3 separate regions of the Homo sapiens genome follow, and all the other regions are linked to region 2. Evidence: promoter capture Hi-C in 16 types of primary human blood cells and fetal thymus (Javierre and others, 2016). All regions are on one chromosome and are shown on one strand. The core of a region is centred on a gene start or on the middle of the fragment in contact, and the rest is flanking DNA. Distances in the headings are between cores, read along the strand shown. Region 1 overlaps SLC9A9 (solute carrier family 9 member A9). Region 2 holds the start of HLMR1 (hepatic lncRNA metabolic regulator 1). Region 3 overlaps SLC9A9 (solute carrier family 9 member A9).

Region 1 (3,470 bases), core at 819-3,318, 750 kb before region 2:
AGGCTTGAGATGTGCAAACAACCCTCCCCATGTGGGAGTTCAGATTTACAACTCACAAGTAGTAAAAGAACTCCCTTCACAGATCTTAACCTCTAGTCTAGGATCTTTCACATTCTTAAATGGCAGAGAGGTTCAATGGAGTCATGTAACTGGTTTTCAGACACGTGCTGGGTTTTTTTGTTTTGTTTTGTTTGTTTTTGTTTGTTTGTTTGTTTGAGAAGGAGTCTCACTCTGTCCCCAGGCTGGAGTGCAGTGGCGTGATCTCGGCTCACTGCAACTTCCGCCTCCTGGGTTCAAGCGATTCTCCTGCCTCAGCCTCCCGAGTAGCTGTAACTACAGACACACGCCGCCACGCCCAGCTAATTTTTGTATTTTTGGTAGGGACAGGGTTTCACCATGTTGAGCAGGATGGTGTCGCTCTCCTGACCTCATGATCCGCCCTCCTCAGCCTCCCAAATTACTGGGATTACAGGCATGAGCCACCACACCCAGCTGCTTTTAAGATTGTACATCTCACTACATAACATGTGTTTTTGTTTGTTTTGTTTGTTTGTTTGTTTTTGCTTTGTTTCTCATTTTAAACATCTAATTTAACATTGTTACAAGTGTGTGTGTAATTGTTATAATGAGAATTTTAGTATAAAGAGAAATTGGTAGGACATATACTAGGTCAGGTGTCCCCAGCCTCCCGGGCCACAGACGGGTACAGGTCTGTGGCTTGTTAGGAACCAAGCTGCACAGCAGGAGGTGAGTGGCAGGCCAGCCAGCATAACCACCTGGGCTTTACCTCCTGTCAGATCAGCGGCAGCATTAGATTGTCATAGAAGTGTGAACCCTATTGTGAACTGCGCATGCGAGGGATCTAGGTTGTGTGCTCCTCATGAGAATCTAATGCCTGATGAGCTGAGGTGGAAGTTTCATTCCGAAACCATCCCCACCTCGCCCTCCTCCCCATCCCCCACGAGAAACCTGTCCCTGGTGCCAAAAACATTGAGGACCTCTGTACTGCGTTGTAAAATTGGGTTACTTGGGGAGAGAGGAGATATGAGTTTAAGAGAGGAAGAGGTGGAAAAAAGAGAGACATACCAAAAAGGAAAAGAAAAAAGACTATTAAAGCAAACGACTAAACAAAGAGTATGCATATTATGATCATATTTATGGATTTATGTGGAAACACATCTGTACACTTGAAAACTTCAAAATTTCATAAAAATGAGAAAATAACCAATCATTTTTATATGATATTAGTAAATCACTCTGAAGTATAATGAGAAAATCTTAAAGGAAAATCTTCAAACTCAGTATGATATTGTGTCTGCCGTGAAGTGAAAAAAGAAATGAAAATCAATGACTTCTCATATTACATGTAAGTCACACATCTCTGCTTGCTCCAGTAGCTAAAGTGTGCTAAGAATCCCAAGTGCTTGATGAAGCCCTGAGCCCTCGTTGTTGGCTTTCATAAGGAGACTACTACTGGCTCATGTTAATTGAATTTAGAAAATTTACTGTGGATTATCCTGTCTGGTGCCTAAATTAAATGCATGGATGATAATTCATTTACTGAAATTAGAAGCCAGGAGGAATATAGATACAAAGTCAAAGTCTCTGTTTAGCTAATGTTTTGCCCAACCAGCCTGCACTTGACAAGTGTCATAGCACTATGCTATTTTTATTATTGGGAGTTAGGAGACCTCAGGTCTAGTTCAATCCCTGTTACTATGCACAAGGCATATTTCTGATGTGCAGGGAAAATTCAAGGTGGCCACTTAAGCTTTCTAGGCCTTATTTGCCTAATATATTCCTAGAGGAATTAGATGATTTTTAAGATTACTTCTTGCTCTATATTAGTAGGTTCTCCAATGTGAGTGAACGTAAAACTCACTTGGAGAGTCTGAAAGTACTAATTAGGGGGTTCTGCCTCCTGAAATTCTGATTCCGTAGGTCCAGGGTCAAGTCCAACACCCCATTTCTAACAAGTGTCTCGTTGATGCTAGTAGCACTAGTCCACAGCCCCGATGAATATAAAAACTGAATGAAATATTTGCTTTTCTGAGTAAATGTCAAGAATTATTGAGATGAAGGAGGCTTGGAACTGATATTTTTAATCTGAAATAGATATCATTTATTGCACTGGTAGAACCTGTATGTAATTTCAAGGGTGCACATCTTACCTTTTATTATAATTATAATAAACTTCCCTTATCATATAGTTCCTCCTCAGAGAATGTGAACTGCAGGAGTCCTAGTTCCCAGTAGAAAGTGCTGTTAGAAAACCTCTGAGATTTCTACCTCTGGGAGTAGTATCCTCTTGAGATGCCACCAGCTCTGATGTCTCTTGTTTGTCTCCCTTGCCCAAATAAGCTTTCCTAGCATGTACTACCTAAAATCACGGCTAGGTGTCGCTCTAATTCTGGGGCGCACCGGTTTCAAGGGGAAGTGTGAACCAGGGCGCTGGCACTGCTCGTGTGTTTATGGGTGAAAGCATCTAAGAGAGGCCCTGTGAAATTGCCTGCATAAAAGGATCACAGTTAGGGATGTCTCATAAACTAATCCCAAGAGGAGCCTTCCACTAAAAATAAAATAAGCACGTAATAAGGGTAGAAAAATTTCCTAAAAATGAGGTTGGGATTGGTGGTCAGAGCGTCCTGGATATCAAAAGTGTCAGTTCATTAAGGCAAGATTAGTGTCATGGGTGAATGGAGCATCACAGTTTAATGCTTTAACTTATTGGAACCTCACTTTCCACTTCCTTAAAATAGAGACTATCAAAACAAAACAAAACAGAAAGTACCTTCCATTTCTTCAAAGAATTTTTGTCAGATCAAATGAAGAGCTGTATGGAAAATTATGTGTAAATTGCTAAGTGTTTTAAAACACATTTTTATTAGCAGTGAATTCTTCTCAGGCACTTTATTGGATTTTTAGATAACACTATCATGATATTCCTATTTATTCCTGAACATAAAATTTCCAGATACCATTTTCTTCCTACATGACCATAATTAAAGAATTTGTTTTCTTATGTTTTCATTACTTGTCCATCCACTTCCACGGTAAATCTCAAATGTAAAGAGACTAAAAAGAAAAAATTAATAAAATTATATTTATCCTCATGTGGAATTTCTGCTTTTTGTAATAGCTACTATACACTTAAATATTTAAAATTTAGAATATTTTCTCCATGTTTCCAGATGCTGCCCCCCTAGACATATTGAACATTAGGAAATGTTGTCAGAAAGTCTTTTCTACTAGTCTCTGTTTTGGATTATCTAGATCATAGTTCCTCTGATAGAATAATCAATATTATTAATATTATTAATTAACAATATAATTAATAAGTATGGTCTTGCTGGCCTTTTATGCCCTGCCCTCCCACCCTTCCCTACTCCATCCTACCCCAACCATAAATTATAAAGCCAAATACAGATTTGTATTTGGATTGGTATTTCACTGATATTTCAAACCAGTTC
Region 2 (3,643 bases), core at 320-2,819:
ACTTATTATAACACATACATTAACAAGAGAGAATGAATATTTACTAAGTATCTACCACATCCATGGCACATGGCTATTCCCTATAGAGACTACTGAATGAATAAATGATAGCATGAACTTATGTAACACTCGCCATAAGCCAGGTTGGTCTAAGTGCTTTACATTCATTAAGACGTTTAATCTTCACAACAACTCTGTGAATATCTGTTATTATCACCATCCCCAGTTTACAGATAAGGAAATTGAGGCACAGAGAACTTCACCAAGATCAGGCAGCCAGCAAACAGAACTTTACAACTTTGGTCATCTGACTCCATGGGCTATGCAAACTATGATCTACCTCCCATCTTAAGGAACAGAAACATAGGAAAAGGTGAATGGTAATGCGGATTTAAATAACAGTTAATGACAACTATAATGGACAAAAGGCAATATCCAAGAGGCAAGTGAATAGTATAAGTCAGAACTCTTTGCGTGCAAGCACCAGAAACTAAATTTAAAATCTCTTAAGTTATCTCAAAAGCTATTTATTTGCTGGCAATAGTAGAAGGCATTGTGGGCTGAATTTTGTCCCCCCACAATTCATGTGTTGAAGTCCTAACTCCCAGAACCTCCAAATATAACCATATTTGGCATAGGGCCTTTAAAGAGGTAATCAGGGTAAATTGAGGTCATTCGGATGGATCCCAATCTAATCTAACTGGTGTCCCTGTAAGAAAGTGAGATTAGGACAAAGACACACACAGAGGGAAGGCCAAGTGAAGGCACAGAGAGGAGGCCTATATGCAAGCAAGAAGAGAGTTTCCAGAGTGAAACCAACCTCCATGACACCTGGATCTCAGATTTCTAGTCTCCAAAGTCACAAGGAATTAAATTCCCATTTTTAGCCACCCAGTCTGTAATACTTTGTTAATGCAGCCTGAGCAGAATAAAATAGAAGAATACTGGGTGTTTCATAGAATTAAAGAGTTACAGGAAACAGTCGGAGCCAGGAATCTCAAGGACTAGAACAAGGACCTCAACACCTGCAGAATACACACACTATCCTCCCCACACTTCCAGCTTCAGAATTTAAAAATGCCAAGGATGGCCTCAACTGATCCAGTTGAGGTCGCATTCCCAACCCTAAGCCAATCATTTAATTCTCCTAGTTCAGTGATGCATCTCTACCATCCTTCGCCGGTCTGTGTCCCCAGATCCTCCTGTGGTTGAGTTTCCCAAGAGAGTAAACCTGGTTTCTGCCAGGACAAGAGAGAGGCTGCTGAAAGATGAGGAAGGAATCCAGAGGTCTGACTGCTTTCTCCAAGGACTTTCCATAAACCTCCTGTTTTCAGCTCCGCCTCTTACCTTTTCTTTCAGAAGAATCTGGTGCCTCCAATTCTGGGGACTTTACGGGTGCTGTGCCATGAACTAGCTTCCTTCTTAAGCTCCCCATCTGCTGGTACTGCAGTTTCAGCCCCTGTCCATGTCCATCTCCAAAAATGAGATGACATGGACTTTTCACCTATTCTTTCTGTCTTGTGGACTTGGGCCTTTTTGGCTTCTTTGCTGTCATTTTAGTAGCATTTTGAAAGAGATGAAAGAAAAACACAGGTTTTTAAACTGCAATGTTTAACCAGAAGTCTATTTTGGGAATTTTCAAATAATCCTCTGTGAAGGTGCCACAGTGGCTTACTTCTGGCTTGGGAAGGTGGCAGTAGCACAGAGGACAGACAGGAGAGCAGACTAGGAAAAGGGTAGGCAGGCTCTGGCCTCTGCCCCCGCATCAAGCAGAAAATCTTGCTTTTTATGTTTTATACATTGTCCTTCTAAGATTTCATTTGAAGAAAGAGACTTTAACTAAAAATAGAAAATCTTAAAACCACTGTGCAATACCAGCCTGCCTCCTACATATTTTAAAGAGTTTAAATTATGGTGTACATACATGTATTCTGGTTTTTTTTCATTAGATTGTGTTACAAACATGTTTCCATATTTATGTGGCTTTTTCATCATCAGTTTCTTAACCTAGTGCCTGGCACATGATAGGCTTTTAGTAAATAGTGATTGATTGAATGAATGAATTATATTTAACAGCTGCTTCTAATTTATTTGTAATTACAGAGAATAAGCTCTTCCATTCATTCATTTATTCACCCAACACATATTTATTCAATACCTATTATATGTCAGGCATTGATGGATGGTGCTGAGAATACAGGAATGAGTAAGGCAAACCGTCCTTTCCACACAGAGCCAACAGTCTAACGGGGGAATCTGACAAGTGAATTGACAATCACAATATGTATAAAAGCTATGGGAAACAAAAAGCATCTACAGGAGCACATCATAGGGGTCCCTAATGCAGACCTGAAAGTTGGGGAAGTCTCCCTGGAGGAAAAGACTTAAAGTGAATCCTAAAAAACTAACAAAACAGTTTCTGGTTCAGCATGTAAGAAATTTGGAAGTTGCCACTCTGTCCTAATGAGTAAAAAGCTGAACAAACTGAAAAACCAAATTAGCCAGGCATGGTGGTGCACACCTGTGGTCCCAGCTACTCGGGAGGCTGAGGCATGAGAATTGCTTGAGCCTGGGAGGTGGAGGTTGTAGAGAGCCGAGATTGCACCATTGCACTCCAGCCTGGGTGACAGAGCGATATTCTTGTCTCAAAAAAAAAAAAAAAAAAGCAGTGAAAAATCAACAACTCTTCTTAGCTCTATAAGAGAAGTGATGGCACAGGACAAATTGCTTCCCCCAAAATTGGGAAGACCAACAGGCAAATACAGAGAATCACAACTTCAAGAGCAGAAACCTCCATGGGAACCAGTGCTGGCACAGAAAAGTCTGAACTTGTAACTGTGAATTGCTGGAGCCAGTTCTCAGACAAGTGTGAACAAGTCTGAGAGATAAAAATCCAGGGGAACTGAATCATAGAGAGGTCCCCACACTTTTGTGGGTTTTACCTCCAGGAGCACTACCAGGTCTCACAGTGAATATTAGGGAAAAAAATCCCCTCCTGCTTCCAGCAGTGGGAGGGGAAAAGGAGCCATTTTGAAATATGCTAGAGCATTATGTTCTTAACAAGGTCTGTCCTCAGGAGAAACTATGTAACCAGAGCCTGACCTGCTGGGGTTAAATATCCAACTCAAGTCCATTCCAGCCATCCTGTCCCACCTAAGGTGAGGTGGGGGAAGGGACCTAGAGGCACATGAAGTTCACAATCCAGAGTAATGGGCTCACTGAAAGACTGAGGAGAACACTTCCTCTCCCCACAGATCTTACCACCACCTAACTAAAGGCCTGTTGACAGCAGTTCCTTTTACCCAGGACACGTATCATTCCTGCTATCCAAAAAAGAAAAACAAAAACAAAAACAAGACATACAAAAAAGAAAAAAAAACCCACAGTTTGAAGAGACAGAACAAGTATCAGAACCAGATTCAGATATGGCAAAGATGTTGAAATTATCAAACCAGAAATTTAAAACCACTATGATTAATGTGCTCAGCTTTAATGGATAAAGAGGACAGCATGCAAGAACAGATGGGCAAGGTAAGCAGAGAAATGGAAATTCTAAGAAAGAACCAAAAAGAAATGCTACAGATCAAAAACATTGCAATAGAATTGAAAAATGTAGGCTGGGCATGGTGGCTCATGCCTGTAA
Region 3 (3,616 bases), core at 768-3,267, 840 kb before region 2:
CAGATACACGTCTCTTGAATAAGAGAAAAAGTAACCACAGTTGCAGTTAGCTCCCTAGGGATTCCACACAACCCTTGGCCTATTTTATCTCTGCACTAAGGGAGTGTATTCTGCATGTAAACATCATCCATCCTTGAGTCACACTGAGGAGAAAAGGTTTTGAATAGCAGCCAGAGCATATGCTCTTCTTTATCTAATACAAATTGCTGTACTTTATTGACCTTTTCCTGGGATATTAATGTTTCAGGTCAGTATTGGGCATAACTTGCTGCTATATTCTTGTATTTTTGTATGGACTTTTTATTCTTTAGCTCACATGGAATTACAAGTTAGCATAGCTTCCTGGAGATTTGGAAGGCACAGGACTACTCTTAGAAAATAGCAAAAGAGAGCATTTATAACAGTGTGGAAAAGAAGCAGTTCTCAAGTTTTCTTGTACTTACCTCTGGCTTTGCTTTTGTTTCAGAGGAATACTTTAGGGACAGAAGAATAAAACATTAAATAGACTGGACTGGTTATGCGATTGAATTCAATATGGGCTTGTTTTGGCTAATGTTAACATGGGTAGAGATTACATGAATCCATCAAGGGGAATAAAGAGAAGTTAGATTTCTGGGTATAGGAAACGTATAATACAGATACTGCTTTCCCAGAGCAGGGTCCCAGGCGAGTTTAGATTGTAATGAGGGTTAGAGAAACCCTTTTTGTATTATTAAGATTACAAAATACAATTTTATTTGCATCTACTTTGGCAGCTCCTTATTTCATTTTTAATTATGAGCAGTAATAATATTTACTATCTATAATACTATGTATCACTTGCCAAGTATTTTACATATGTTTATCTCCTTTAATCCTGATAATGCTATCATGTTGTTTCTTCTCCCCATACAAGTGAGGAAACTAAGGCACAGAAAAGATAACTCGGCCAAAGTCACAAAGATAGCAAATGCAAATGGGGCAACCTGAGTAGAAACAAGCTTTTAAACACTATGCCATGCTTAACCTTTTATGACAGACTAAAAGATCTGATTGTATTTTTGCTCTTCATATGTCAATATAAAACATCTTGTCAAAGTGATAAAATACAAACATTTATACACACTGTTGCACAGTGGCAAGAGTCTAATCTTGTTTTCAATTAAATAGCATTAGGATGTCAGCATTGGAAACTTTCCCAAGAAATCCCATTTCCCTTCATGGGCTCCACATTTTGCTGAATGAAGACACATGCACAGAACACTAATACGCCATGTCATTTGTTCAACACCTGTTAGGTACCTATTATGCATATAGCACTGTACATCTCTAGCCATATTATACATAATCTATGTGTCTTATTGTATGCGTAATTAGGAGTTATTTTCTCTAAAATAATTCTTTGATATCTTAAACAGGTTCCTCCTATGTTATATGAGATATATCCCCTGTAGTTCCAATGCCTTGTAAGAAGTATTCTATCACTACAGCACATGCACAGGGAAATGTGGTACATCTCATACCAAGAGATGAAACTTTCATCCCTTAAACAAAATAGAAGAATCTTTCTCAACATCTATAACTTGGGCATAAAATACAGGGTAGGTTGTTGTGAAGATTAAATAAATTAATATACATGACACTCTTAGAATAATGCCAGATATGCAGTGCCCCCTTAACAAGTGGTATTCTTTTGATTACTTATTATCACAGGAATCATCATTATTTTTAGGTAGAAATGTTTCTCTGATTTTCCCCCTCGCTGAGAATAAATGAGAGTGAGGAGCCCCTGATATGTGTACCCTGGGTGTCTGGCAGTCAGTCAGTGAGCCCTGTGTGACAGTGAGGAGAGGAGGTAGTGTGAAGAATAAGAAGGAAAAGAAAGTGGTGAGAAAGATGGAAAAGTCTAGCTGGAAGGGCAAAGGGAGTAGTTATGGAAAGCATCTCAATAGCTGTCATCTATTTACCTTTAATTGCCTTGTCCAAAATTTAACAGCAAAGCAAACATTAGCATTTACACCAGCTGTCTTCAAGAAAATATATTTTGATTATTAAAAAACTTCTGAGGAAGTGAGAGACATAATTACTACCTGTATAGTTAATTCTAAATCATTAAACTTCCTCTTTATAATCATTAGGTTATAAGATGGAAAAAGGGCATAGAAATGCGTGAAGTGATAAAGATGGTTGGAAATTAGGCATCTAAATAGCCATTTCTTCAAAGAAATAGGCAATTTTTAAACATGTATTGAACTTTAAAAAAATTGTGTTGTAAAGGATAGACAAACACACTTGCTATTAAAGAAATTCTAAACTGTTGTACCTCCATTGAAACAAGACTGTACTTAAAGTTCCTTACCACAAAATAATAGAAACCAAGGAGTCTATGGTGTTCTTTTCAATAGGTGTGATGCTACAGGTATATAAGAATGAGGTGAGTCACTGGCCAGAGAGAGCTTTCTAGTTGAGGTTAACAAGACATTTGTCCGTGGAACTATCCTCCCTCCAAACAAACAAACAGTTAATGTGGCCCTTGAAGTTAATTTTCTGTAAACACACACACACACACACACACACACACACACACACATACACAGACACTTACTGTTTCACAAACCAAATCACCTGAAAGGCAGCGCCATCTCATCTGTGTATATGATAGGGAAGGGGTAAATAAATTTACTCAGTATGGGAAATTCATCTTCTAAGCTCTTGTTACCCGGTCCTGCCCAAAGACACCCTGGCATGAATAACATGCAGGAAGTTGGACATGTTACTCTAGTCCAACCTCAGTTGTTTCACTCTGTCCTCTGCAGAAATATCTAGAGGTCCAGGCAAGAAGCATACCTCCTGAGTGAAACGTGTTATAAACACCATAACCATAATATTAGCAGAATTCTCATGAATTCTAGCTCAAGCGCACTCAGATCATAGTGGTATTAATGATACAGATACTGCTTTCCCATTGCTTACAGCAATTGTGGCCATGATTACCATACTTTTTAAGAATAAATTTGCAAAACAATAACTAGTATACTGAAATGATAGAATTATGGGACATGTGGAAAAAGCTTTAGAACTCTTGCAGTCTAAGGCTGGGCATGGTGGCTTATGCTTGTAATCCCAGCACTTTGGGAGGCCAAGGCAGGCAGATTACCTGAGGTCAGGAGTTCTAGACCAGCCTGGCCAACATAGGGAAACCCCGTCTCTACTAAAAATATTTTTTAAAAATTAGCCAGGCAAGGTGGTGGCACCTGTAGTTCCAACTATTCAGAAGGCTGAGGCAGGAGAATCACTTGAACCTGGGAGACAGAGGTTGCAGTGACCCAAGATCAGGCCACTGCTCTCCAGTCTGGGTGACACAGTGAGACTGTGTCTCAAAAACAAAAAAAACTTTTCCAGCCTACCCTCCACCTACAGCTAAGAAAACATACCCAGTTGTAGAAATAGTCACATTTGCAATTCCTTAATGTTTAAAGCAATCACCCCCACTATATTTAAATGTGTGATGACAGCAGATCTTATGTGGTAGCCATCCTCCAACATCAGGACTTTCTTCCTTTCATACATATTAGCTAAGTATGTTTATATTTATTCTGGCCTTGTTGTCTGACTTTACATCCTTTTAAATTTTCTT

The links. The method cuts DNA at HindIII sites, captures the fragments that hold promoters and counts their contacts. A CHiCAGO score of 5 or more calls a contact.
Region 1: a contact is called between a fragment that was not itself captured here and the fragment with the promoter of HLMR1 in region 2, in 1 of 17 cell types (naive B cells). The highest score is 5.3, in naive B cells.
Region 3: a contact is called between a fragment that was not itself captured here and the fragment with the promoter of HLMR1 in region 2, in 1 of 17 cell types (endothelial precursors). The highest score is 6.4, in endothelial precursors.

The regions. Positions count from the first base shown.
Region 1 is chr3:143,673,481-143,676,950 of GRCh38, reverse strand. All of the region lies in intron 5 of SLC9A9 (solute carrier family 9 member A9), which reads left to right. Among named protein-coding and RNA genes, the nearest start is that of SLC9A9, 170 kb to the left of the region's middle. The HindIII fragment of the contact is 590 bases long and covers 1,774-2,363 here.
Region 2 is chr3:142,924,601-142,928,243 of GRCh38, reverse strand. It overlaps HLMR1 (hepatic lncRNA metabolic regulator 1), which reads right to left and starts at 1,569. Exons shown (of 5, transcript NR_038455.1): 1 at 1,348-1,569. The HindIII fragment of the contact is 9,222 bases long and covers 1-3,643 here.
Region 3 is chr3:143,766,330-143,769,945 of GRCh38, reverse strand. The region is part of intron 4 of SLC9A9 (solute carrier family 9 member A9); the gene reads left to right. Among named protein-coding and RNA genes, the nearest start is that of SLC9A9, 80 kb to the left of the region's middle. The HindIII fragment of the contact is 2,070 bases long and covers 983-3,052 here.